Regions from separate parts of the Homo sapiens genome. Here region 2 is linked to region 1. Evidence: promoter capture Hi-C in human tissues and cell types (Jung and others, 2019). All regions are on one chromosome and are shown on one strand. The core of a region is centred on a gene start or on the middle of the fragment in contact, and the rest is flanking DNA. Distances in the headings are between cores, read along the strand shown. Region 1 holds the start of TMEM161B (transmembrane protein 161B). Region 2 overlaps TMEM161B-DT (TMEM161B divergent transcript).

What was found. Contacts are between HindIII fragments. The study calls those that stand out against the background at their distance.
Region 2: a fragment that was not itself captured here is called in contact with the fragment with the promoter of TMEM161B in region 1 in 2 of the 25 tissues and cell types used here (dorsolateral prefrontal cortex and hippocampus).

Annotation. Positions count from the first base shown.
Region 1 is chr5:88,265,766-88,271,141 of GRCh38, forward strand. It overlaps TMEM161B (transmembrane protein 161B), which reads right to left and starts at 3,080. Exons shown (of 12, transcript NM_153354.5): 1 at 2,956-3,080. The coding sequence starts at 2,958. TMEM161B-DT (TMEM161B divergent transcript) reads left to right here and starts at 3,117. Exons shown (of 3, transcript NR_039995.1): 1 at 3,117-3,262; 2 at 4,761-4,820. RefSeq lists enhancers at 2,867-3,366, 3,057-3,246. The HindIII fragment of the contact is 7,701 bases long and covers 1-5,376 here.
Region 2 is chr5:88,418,387-88,423,762 of GRCh38, forward strand. All of the region lies in intron 2 of TMEM161B-DT (TMEM161B divergent transcript), which reads left to right. The region is part of intron 5 of LINC02060 (long intergenic non-protein coding RNA 2060); the gene reads right to left. Among named protein-coding and RNA genes, the nearest start is that of LINC02060, 18 kb to the right of the region's middle. The HindIII fragment of the contact is 5,693 bases long and covers 558-5,376 here.

The sequences.
Region 1 (5,376 bases), core at 1,830-4,329:
AATCCAATTGATTATGGCAAAGGTTTATAACCTCCCCATGGCCTACTCTCCCACACCTGCCCACAAACCATTGTTCAATTACAGCAGTAAGTTACTACAGGATGATACACAGATGCAAGCCGTGATATCTGCAATTCCAGGAGCTAGCTCTAATCTACCTATCTTCCACAAATTAGCTTGAATGGTAGAAAGATTTATATTTGATCAAAGTTGGTCTGTAATTTTCAAAAAGGAAAGTGCAATAGAGCAAATGGCTTTATTCCATTAGTAAATTTCCTATAGACTTGTCTTCACAACAACTTGAAAGCATAAAAATTAAGCGTGAGTTCAGTATTTTCAGTCTGGATCATAATCCTATTCTCCTTCATTCATAATACAAAAACCTTGTTATAGGCACAGGTATCTATTGAGTATCGGTATACATAATGTATGAGAGAATGAGAGCACAGAATTAGTTTATCATTGATTAAAACAAGAATTAAATCAAAACATTCCAAGAGTTGTGTTCCATTCTGGAGCAGTATTTAAGACAGTAGTGAAAGACTTGGCCAAATATACAAAGATTCCAAGTACTATCTATGTGACTTATGAAAAAAATGAAAAAGAGAATGATAAAAGAAATCAAACTTAAGCCAAAATGGCATGGAAACAAAACAGTGGAAATCAGACTAACTTTTATTTAATCTGAAACATGTAACTATCCTCAAAAATGTTGAGTAGTCATGGAATCATAAATTTAAGAAGGTGCTTTAATACCCATCAAGTCCCACTTCTCTTACCCAGGAGGAATTTGGAACTCTTATCAAAATTGAGTGACTTTTCCAAATCCATATAACTAACAATGGGCAGAATCTGGGTCCTCTGGGGTCAATACTAATGTTCTTTTCATAATATCATTAGGCCCCAGCAATGCAAAACAAGTTCTGATTTCAACAAGCTGAATCCTCAATAAATTCAGCCCATGTTCACTTCATTTAATGGTTAAACTCTTCCCTTTGAAAAATTCCAAGCATTAACCACACTTGCATATACAGACATTATCAATTTCATAGCTGGGAAAGATAAAACTCAGCCAAGATAATTAGCTCAGAAATATAAGCACTTCCAGAAGGAAAAGAGCCAACTAGTTAGTTCCAAAATGACATTCAGAAAAACAGCATAAGATTACATTAGTTCCAAACATTAACCATCTCTTTTGAACCGACAGGATAAGCAGGATTCTACTTCTAGTATTCCAAAACACTGAGAACAAGTTCATGTTCAGCTTTTCTGTGACTATGATGAACTTAAGTATTTTAATTATACTTTACCTTCAACTTTTCAGACCAAAAAGTCAAAAATTAATCTTAAATTTAAAAAATGAAAATATGAGTTTTAGTCCAGACTGCCAAACTACTGTTACTTTAGAAAAATCACTGTCAATTTCTAGACCCCAGATTCTTTCTTCTGTAAAAATGGGGATGGAAGAGTGATTACTAGGCTTTGGTTTCTCCCAGTTCTGTTTTCCCTATCCTTGTCTAATTTCACTGATACAAAAGAAAAACAACTTTCTTAATACAAACCATATTATTCACTGAGGCTTAAAAAAAAAAACTTTAAAGAGATAGGTTATCTGGTAAAGTGCACCAGGAACTACATTATTTTGAAGGTCTTTGTTCTACATTCAGCTAAGTTTCTAAAAGTCATTCAAAAGCCAATCACCACACACATTAACTGAATGTTGGCAATATTTGGCCCTGAAAATATAAGACAAACTGAAGCTAAATTCCAGGACAGAAGCCTCTGCAAGTGAGGGTTTGAAATCTTGTATACGGTGAAGAAACTGACAATAATGAACTTCACCAGAGCCCCGTGATCTTGAAAAACAGCAAAGGTTAAGAAACCCCTTGCCCCCGTTTGTGTTCTGAGAAATTGGCTTACTGCAAAGAATCATCTTTCCTGTAGAACTTAGATAAGACTAAGGGTTGATCCATACCCCCCTACCCCTTGTTTACCTATAACAAGGCCATAACTAGACCCTTCTAATTCCCATCCTTTGCTTCGTAAATGACTTGCTGAAGTACCTGTCCCACAGATCAATCGGAACAAAATACTTATTAACCAAACTTTAAGATTCTCTTCTCTCGGGTACCTGAATTTTGTCCTTCCCTCAGTCTGAAACAACATATACAAACCTCTCCTAACAGCTCCTCCTCAGAATACATGGGCTCAGGGTAAAACATTATCTGGTTACTGCCGGATCATACCCATATTTTCATCCCAATTCCTGACATCTTATTTACCCCTACCAACAAAAGACAAACCCTTTCTGCCTAACCTTTAAGGTGCATGCAAATCTTACGGTCATTCTCCCTACTGCAACAGTTCCTTCAACCTTCCTCCACACCCCTGCAATATTCCTTTCGAATAAAGTCTGTCCTTACTAAACTCGGGTTTTTTATTTGACACCCTTTTCAATTATGAAATGGCTAAGTGTAAAGAATAAGGGGACTACCGTTTCTTTAAATGACAGGTGTTGATCTTATACAAGGAGACCCGTTGTGTCCACCTGGAGAGGCTAAAAGCATTTCTAAGATCTGAAGTTCTTGGCCACTGTTCCGCGGATGGAGAAGGGGGCGCAGAAGAGGTGACTGACCCGGCAAGGTCAACTCTGGGATCACCTGGCGCCACAGGCCATACACAGTAAATGGGCCATGAACAGGCAGGCTACCCAGTCCATACTCCCTGACAGATACGCCCCTGCCTCCGGCCCGCTAGTCTCCCAGACAGGTAGGCGTAATGCTGCTTCCTCAGGGGCTCAGACACCCTGAGATAGGTGGTGGGTCCTACCCAGCAGCTCATCCCAACGTCTCAACTCCATTCTGAGCAGAGCACCTGATGGCTCTTTTCACAGTACTGACCTCCCCGCCCTTTTCGCCCCACCGTTGTCACTCCTGCCCTCACAGAAGAACTCACCATGGCGCCTAGGATAGGTCGTGGACCAGACACCCTGGAGTTGCCGGGGCAGTCCCAAACCTCTTACCTCCCGGTCCTTGAGCCGAGAGACTCTCAAACAGCGAAAGAGAGGGTCTTCCGGCTCTGCCGGAAGTTGTGCGCGCGCGGGACAGGAAGTTCCTCCCTTCTCCAGAGCGCCGTCGACCCCACGCCACGCAGAGGTGAAGATACGCAGGACGTCCTCTAAAGCAACTTCCGTGGGTGCCAGGTTGTGGGCTGGGGGCGGTGCTGACCTTGAGAGAGCGGAGGAGGCGCAGGCGCAGCACAGGTACGTGGGCGGGCGGATCGTGGTGGCTGCGCTTGCGAGGACCCTGAGGTAGATTGGGTGGTTTCAACAGGAACGCATCCACTGTCTGAGAGGTGACGGAGGCACACGTTGGTGTGGGGAGCGGGAGGGGAGAGGGAGGGGGGCGGGTGGGGGGCGGGAGGGGGCCAGGGGTGGGAGTGAGGGTGCGCGATGGGAGTCGACTCCAGACCCAGGTGATTTAGAGAGAGTAAAGACCACCTTTGGCCGTCATTTTGTCTCAGCTTAACTGACGCCCTCTTGTTACCCTCTAGTTTTCCTGACTCGGTCCCTTATTAGCATATCCTCATTTCCACAGACCTGTCCGTCTGTTGCTTCTGTTCCCTGCCTTAGTGGGTACCGTAGCTCTACCCTCCTTCCGGGCAATGGAATCTCATAGTGAGAAGTTTCTTCACTATTCACAGGTGGCAATTGAAGCCGGAAGAACATCTACCAAGAGCAGAGAACCCAGGAAGAAAATTCTGCCTCTTTAATACGTTCCAATATGGACGTTTTCCATATAGATACCTATCTATATAGATAGATGCTCTGGGATCTGACGGTCCTGGACACCTGTATGGCTGTGTGCTGTGGTCTTTGCCTAGCCTGCGGTTCACTTTTGCTCTGGCCACCACCTCCCCTCATGTACAAACCGCGTCTCTGCTCTGCCAGTCTTGGCCCCCGTCAGGCAGCGGTTCACTCCCTCACCAGGGAAGTCTAGATAGATAGATATAGATAGATATCGATCGATAGATATAGATATATATATAGATAGATAGATAGGTAGATATATGGATAGATATAGATATTTGGATAGATATGTAGACGTCTATCTATAAATATATCGATATATCGGGGTTCTCAGCCATCCCAAAGAAGCTTGCACAGGGCCAGTTGCTTTATGTCAGGAAAAGGGACACAGACTGAGTGTATGAGGGTTTTTTTTTTCTATAGATGTATAGATATTTATATCAGATGCAAATAAGTGAAACTCTCATACAACTTTTAATTTTGTGTTTTTTCCAAACTCTATTCCATTCAACTTTTTCTGCCTTTTTATTTGATTATAATGAGACATCGTACTGGAGGCAGGCTTGAAATGGATATACAGAGCACTTTCAACCCAGAAATTTGTCTCACGACTTGGGGTCCTTACTTAAGTTGTAGCTGTTAGTAATTTCATCCATGAATTCACTTTGTGCCATAGTGTGATGTTTTGTTATGAAGTTGGAATTGGGAAGGGAAACTAGGAAGTTTTGGGAGAAGTTAAGAAGGTTGAGTAGGCAGGCGTTGTTATAGATATTAAATTTCACCCTGCTTATCAAAGTACCTGGAGCGTATGGTATCCAAGCTGTAAATGGCCCAAAGGAATCGGGGTTCTCAGCCATCCAAAAGAAGCATGCACAGGGCCAGTTATTTTATGTCAGGAAAGGGGACACAGACTGAGTGTATGAGGGTTTTTTTTTTTGTTTTTTTTTTTTAGTTTAAACTTGATTTTGTGAGGGGACGAACAGCGTGACAATTAAAAGAAGATCTGGGAATCGTAAGTACTGACAGAATACCTGGAGGGAAGGTGGGACTGGAGAATAGTTTGTGAAACAGATCCTGCTGAGGATGAATCCAGAACTTCCTGAAGGGTTCCGCTTCTGCTGTGTAGGGACAAGGTTGTAAATAGACAAGCCACAGGCACCTGCAAATGGTAAGTGTGGTAGAGAGGGGCTGGAATTGCCTGTTGGTGTATCTGTGGGAAGCAGCTGCTATCCTTGAGGAAGAAAAGATGGAGAAGGTAAGTGGCTATCAACCTGTCAGAGACAACACATTCTGTGAAGTTGTACTCTTTCATTTCTGACACTGTGGTTCTTAATATCTGTCCTAAACCTGGCAGTCATTGAGGTTCGCAAAGTATCTCCTTCTATGTGACAGTAAAACTGGAATTACTATCAGAATGGAATCCATTCCTGCTAGAGTAAAACCATGAAAAGAAATCGCAGTTTTGATTATCTGCTTATCATTTTTAATAGATCACAGAGTGCAGTGTTCCTTATTTGTTGTATGGCAAGTTGATGAATAACTCTTGATTAATATCTTTTAATGTTCTG
Region 2 (5,376 bases), core at 2,154-4,653, 150 kb after region 1:
ACTCCACTACACTCTGGCCTGGGAGACAGAGCGAGAACTTGTCTCTTTAAAAAACAAAACAAAAGAAAATTAACAAAATATGAAGGCCTCTATTGGCCTAGTCACTCAAACGTATTTTTATACATAATTGTTGGGCAGATAGCCTGCATTTATTTTAATGATAAATGTATCAGTGCTACTGTTCCCTGAGGACTTCACATAAAGGAAGATATTTATCTCTGGAATTTTAGCCACATTACAATGAAAATAAAATGCAATTAACAAAATATTAATGCAAGTGTATTTGAAGATCAACTGCCTAATGGTTAGGTCTATATTATTCTCTAACTTCCTGAAAGTCAATACATAGCAGAGGCAATGAGTTAACCAGCCAATCAAAATCACAATATCTATCTACTTGTGAGTCTATTATTAATTCTTTAATAAAATGCATGGCTGGATGAGAGTTCATGCTTCCTGGTCTTTTAAAAACTTTTAGTCAGACTGAGTTGCTACTCTGAAGTCTGAGATTATTTAACATTATTTTTTAACACTAGACGACTACTGTAACACTATAGGAAGTAGACAGAATCATGGAACGTTAGAGCAACAAATGACTATCTAGGTCCCTTCTCGCCTTTTCCCTTAGAGATGGGAATACTGAAGACCAGTAAATACAGGAGAGTTGCTCAGTGTCACACAGTTAGTGGTAGAGCTGGGCCTGGAGCCCAGGGCTCCTGATTCCCAGGCCACTGCTCTCCACAACACCAAGTCACAGAATTTCAAGATCCCACCCAGAGTCTGATTTTGCAGATCCTGTGAGGAACTTGCCTAGCAGTCTGTGGACCCAGACTGTGTTCATTTATTTTTTTTCTAGACAAGGTAAAGTAGGAATTAAGTAGATGAAGGCATAAAGGAGCAACTGAAACTTACGTGAACTTGAAATTCTCTCACAGTGGCAGATGCCATGGGGATTTTTTGAGACTGCTTCTGGTGAAGGTGAACCACCCATCTACTCAGAAGTGAGTGTCAGGAATGGCTAGCACTAGCTTTAATTTTAGAAATTGTCTTTAAGACTCAAGATGGATAGGTTTCCTTGCAGTTACTGCCAAGTAAAATGGAGTATTAAGAATATTGATATTTCAGTTGCCATTATGCTGTTTTATGTTGGCAGTAGAACTAAAAACCAAAAAAAAAAAAGCAGTGAATTATCCCACTAATTTTCTATTGTTATTTTCAATATGAGTCTGCTTTAATTATTATTTTTACTTCATGTTGGATAATGAAAAGATTATAAACTTTGGTCATTTGTGTAACTCTAGCAGCAAAGGGGAAACAAAGGGGAAAGTAAAGTTTTTGAACTGAAGTTTTACTTTGTGTGTAACTATACAAGCTTACGACAAAAAACCACATACAAACAAAACTATGAACAAGTATAGCAGACATAGTTATTCATTTCTGCTTTTAAAACACTTACTTTTACTATATGAGTGGCTACTGGTAGTTATAACAAGTTAAAGATGGTCGAGTAATTTTGCAGTATACCAAAACTGCACCAATTCTCTATTAAAATACAACGACTTTGTCAAGTTGATCCCAGCATTTGCCTTTCAGCTCTGACAAAAACAGTTTTGATTTATTTAATGACATTTTTCAATCTGATTGTTAGATAAAGGTATTTTACAACAACCAAATCAAGTTGACCAGTTGGATTCTCATTCCTGCTCTTATTCACACTTCCTTATTACCTTTTCGTGTCCGAACAAGTTACCCAGAGTCATGGAGTATAGAGAGGAGTCAGCTCTTTTTACAAGATGCTTGTGTTTCAGCTTTTTGAAGCACCAGAAGAGGAATGTACCTCTCCTCTGTGTCTTTTGTGTGTCTGTAAACTGAAATTACAGATCTGCAATATAATAAACTGTTAAGAACAACATTCAGCCCAGTTTTTTTCTGGGATGAGGAATATGGATCTCTAATGTGTACAGGATAGTTTTAGGAAGCGTATGGATAGTGAATAACGCAATAAGAAAATTAGCCTCTTTCAGGTTTTTTGAGACTTCTAATTATATCAAGAAGAAAGTCTCAGTCTGGTGCTAACAAAGAAGTCTCTAACACTTTTATCTTCCTTTTTGAGAAACAGAAGACAAGCCTCAGGCTCAGCGTCTTTAGCAGATAACTATGTAGAGCCAGAATTTAATAATACTGTATGGTTTTCATTAAAAATATAATTTTTTGGGTTACCAACTATATGGATGACACTTTTTTAAATGGCAGATGCACAAAGCTTCCTTTTAAAATATGCTTAAAGTTAAAAATAAAAATAGAGTTAGTTTAAAGACAAACATTAAGTGAAAATTAGTGCAGTGAATATAGCAGTGGAAATATTACATAATGGCTGTAGTCAGTGACATGGTAAAAAGCACGAGGCTGCTGTGGTAATGACTATATCTTGGGGAGCTGGCAACCAACTCCCTCACTGGACAGATGTGAAACCCAAATCCCAGAGAGGTCAGAAAATCATAAAATCAGGACTGCTATCCGTAGGCCACCTACCAAATGGATGTTACCACTTTATTTGACAGCTTGAATCATTTTTTCAAAATGGCCTTTTTTCCATCACTTTGTGAACAATATACATTAAGTTTGAAGTTGAAAAACAATAAAACTTGATTTCTTCATCCCCACATTATGACAAGATTGACTTGGCAAGGTTATTGAAGAGGAACTGTTAGAAAAATGAAGCCAGAATTGTGAGACATGACTTAGTGAGAAGGCGAATGGAAAAGAATTCCTTCAATATAAAATTTAACTTTAAATTCAAAGCTAAAGTAGGGTTATTTTCTCTTTTGAGGCTGGTTTGCAAAGGTAAAAGTGGGTTTTGTTTTAAGTTTACAAGTCTCGAATTCTTGAAAACATAGCAAGACAAACTTTGAATCTTTTTTTTAAAAAAAGTACAGGCTTTTACAGAAATGAAAAACTGAAATGCTCCTAGAAAAAGAAAGCTTTAAATTAAGAGGAAATTCTGTGTCTTAAAAATATCATAATTAAATGCAGTTGAGGAAAGAAATCGACAGATTTTTGTGAAATCCTTGTGTTTCTGTGAGGTTTGAGAAGGATGCAGGAGCAACTTCCTCCTACTGTGCAGGGACTCCAACCACACTGATGCTCCAGCCAAGTAAACAAACATTCCGAAGGACAAAGAACAAAATTTCAGAATGACAGAATGGTCACTTCTGAATTAAAATGGACTTTTTAAAGTCAATCTTTAATTGACTTAAAAAATTAAAAACTTGCATATTTGGCTGGGTGTGGTGGTTCACACCTGTAATCCCAGCACTTTGGAAGGCTGAGGTGGGAGGATCGCTTGAGGCCAGAAGTTCAAGACCAGCCTGGGCATCATAATGAGACCCTGTCTCCATAAAACATTTTACTTTTTTTTTTTTTTTTTTGAGATGGAACCTTGCTGTGTCACCCAGGCTGGAGGGCAGTGGTACAATCTTGGCTCACTGCCACCTCCGCCTCCTGGGTTCAAGCTATTCTCCTGGCTCAGCCTCCTGAGTAGCTGGGATTACAGGCATGCACCACCACACCCAGCTAATTTTTGTATTTTTATTAGAGACAGGGTCTCACCATGTTGGTCAAGTTGGTCTCAAACTCCTGACCTCAAGTGATCTGCCCACCTTGGCCTCCCAAAGTGCTGGGATTACAGGCATGAGCCACCGCGTCTGGCCAAAACATTAAAAAAATTTAGCTGAGCATGGTGGCAGACGCCTGTAGTCCCAGATACTCCAGAAGCTGAGGCAGGAGGATCACTTAAGCCCAAGAGATTGAGGCTGCCATGAGCCATAATTGTTCCGCTGCACTCCAGCCTGGGCAATGAAGCGAGATCCTGCCTCAAAAATTAAATTAAATTAAATTAGATTGAAAACTTTTCTCTTATCACCTTGTCTACTTATTATCTATTTATTGAAGCCTGTCTCTTGTTGGAGTGGAGGGAATGAAAAGGTGGGCAGCAAAGTCAAGCTGGTTCATGCATTGATTGGATGTTAAAATCAATGTATATGGAAAGAGGTAAAATAGAGTAAGACATTTAACACATTTTAAAATCCCAGCCAGATGGGAACTAATTTTTTATCCTTTCTCTGCCTCAGTTTTCTTTATTCAAATAATGAGACCAATAGACCTCTGTGTTATTGGGTTATCTAAAGAAATAACTAACAGCAATTAGTGAAGTATAAAACCAAGGGTTGAAATGGGAAATTACACTGCGTATCCTAATGTCTAAATCACTCCCAGGTTGTGAACTAGGGACAGAGAAAAGTTATCACCCTTTCCAACTAACTAATATTGTCTCATCTTGAGGATTTCCATTTTCAGACCCCACCCTCTGGCTCTGACATGTTTATTCCTAATTCTGAGAGCCCAGCTGAATAGTCATTGGAGAAGTTTCAGTCCCTGGGAAATTCCAAGAAATATCATTCCATGCACACCATGGACTCTAGAATGGATATTCTTGGGCATTAGCTCACCAGGAAAGGGAACACTCTGCTGTACTCTGTTAGATTTTCTTGCAAGGATTCATGAGCAGATCTGTTTCGGATGCAGAATGTCTGAGCAGAAACAGAAATGACAATCATTTGAAATTGGGGATCACTTGTAAGCCATTTTCACAAAGGCCTGAAATTCATCTTTACAGTTCCTTGATTCACTCATGAGACTGCCATTCATCTAGTAGCATCATGTCATGTAGCCCAGCCCAGGTGATTTGAGAGTTTGTTTTAAGTGTCCAACCTTTAGAAATGTCTCTCCTGTAATCTCTGAAAAGAGGATGGTGGGGTAGACTAGAGGCAACACTGTTTGTGTGTGGATTCCACAATGCTTCTTTAAGAATCCATGTCAGTGTGAGTTAATTTGATTTATGTAACCCACAAATTATTTTTAGGACTTTGCCCAGGGTCAACTGCTTTATGTGTATTGCAAATCTCCCTTGTTTCATCAGGGAGGAATCTGACACAAAGAGCTATTTACTTATTTATCAACACAAAGTCACACATAGTTGTGTCATAATTGGAATACACCCTGATACTCAGCCTCCCATTTGGATGTTTCTTTTTCTTTTCATTTATTATTATTATTATTATTATTATTATTATTATTATCATCATCATCATCATTATTATTATTTTGGGACAGGATCTCACTCTACCACCCAGGTTGGAGTGCAGTGTCTCCATCTCAGCTCACTGCAGCCTCAACCTTCCAGGGCTCAGGTGATCCTCCCACTTCAGCCTCCCAAGTGGCTGGGACTACAGACATACACAACACACCTGGCTAATTTTTGTAGAGATGGGGTTTCACCACATTGCCCAGGCTGGTCTCAAACTCCTAGGCTCAAGC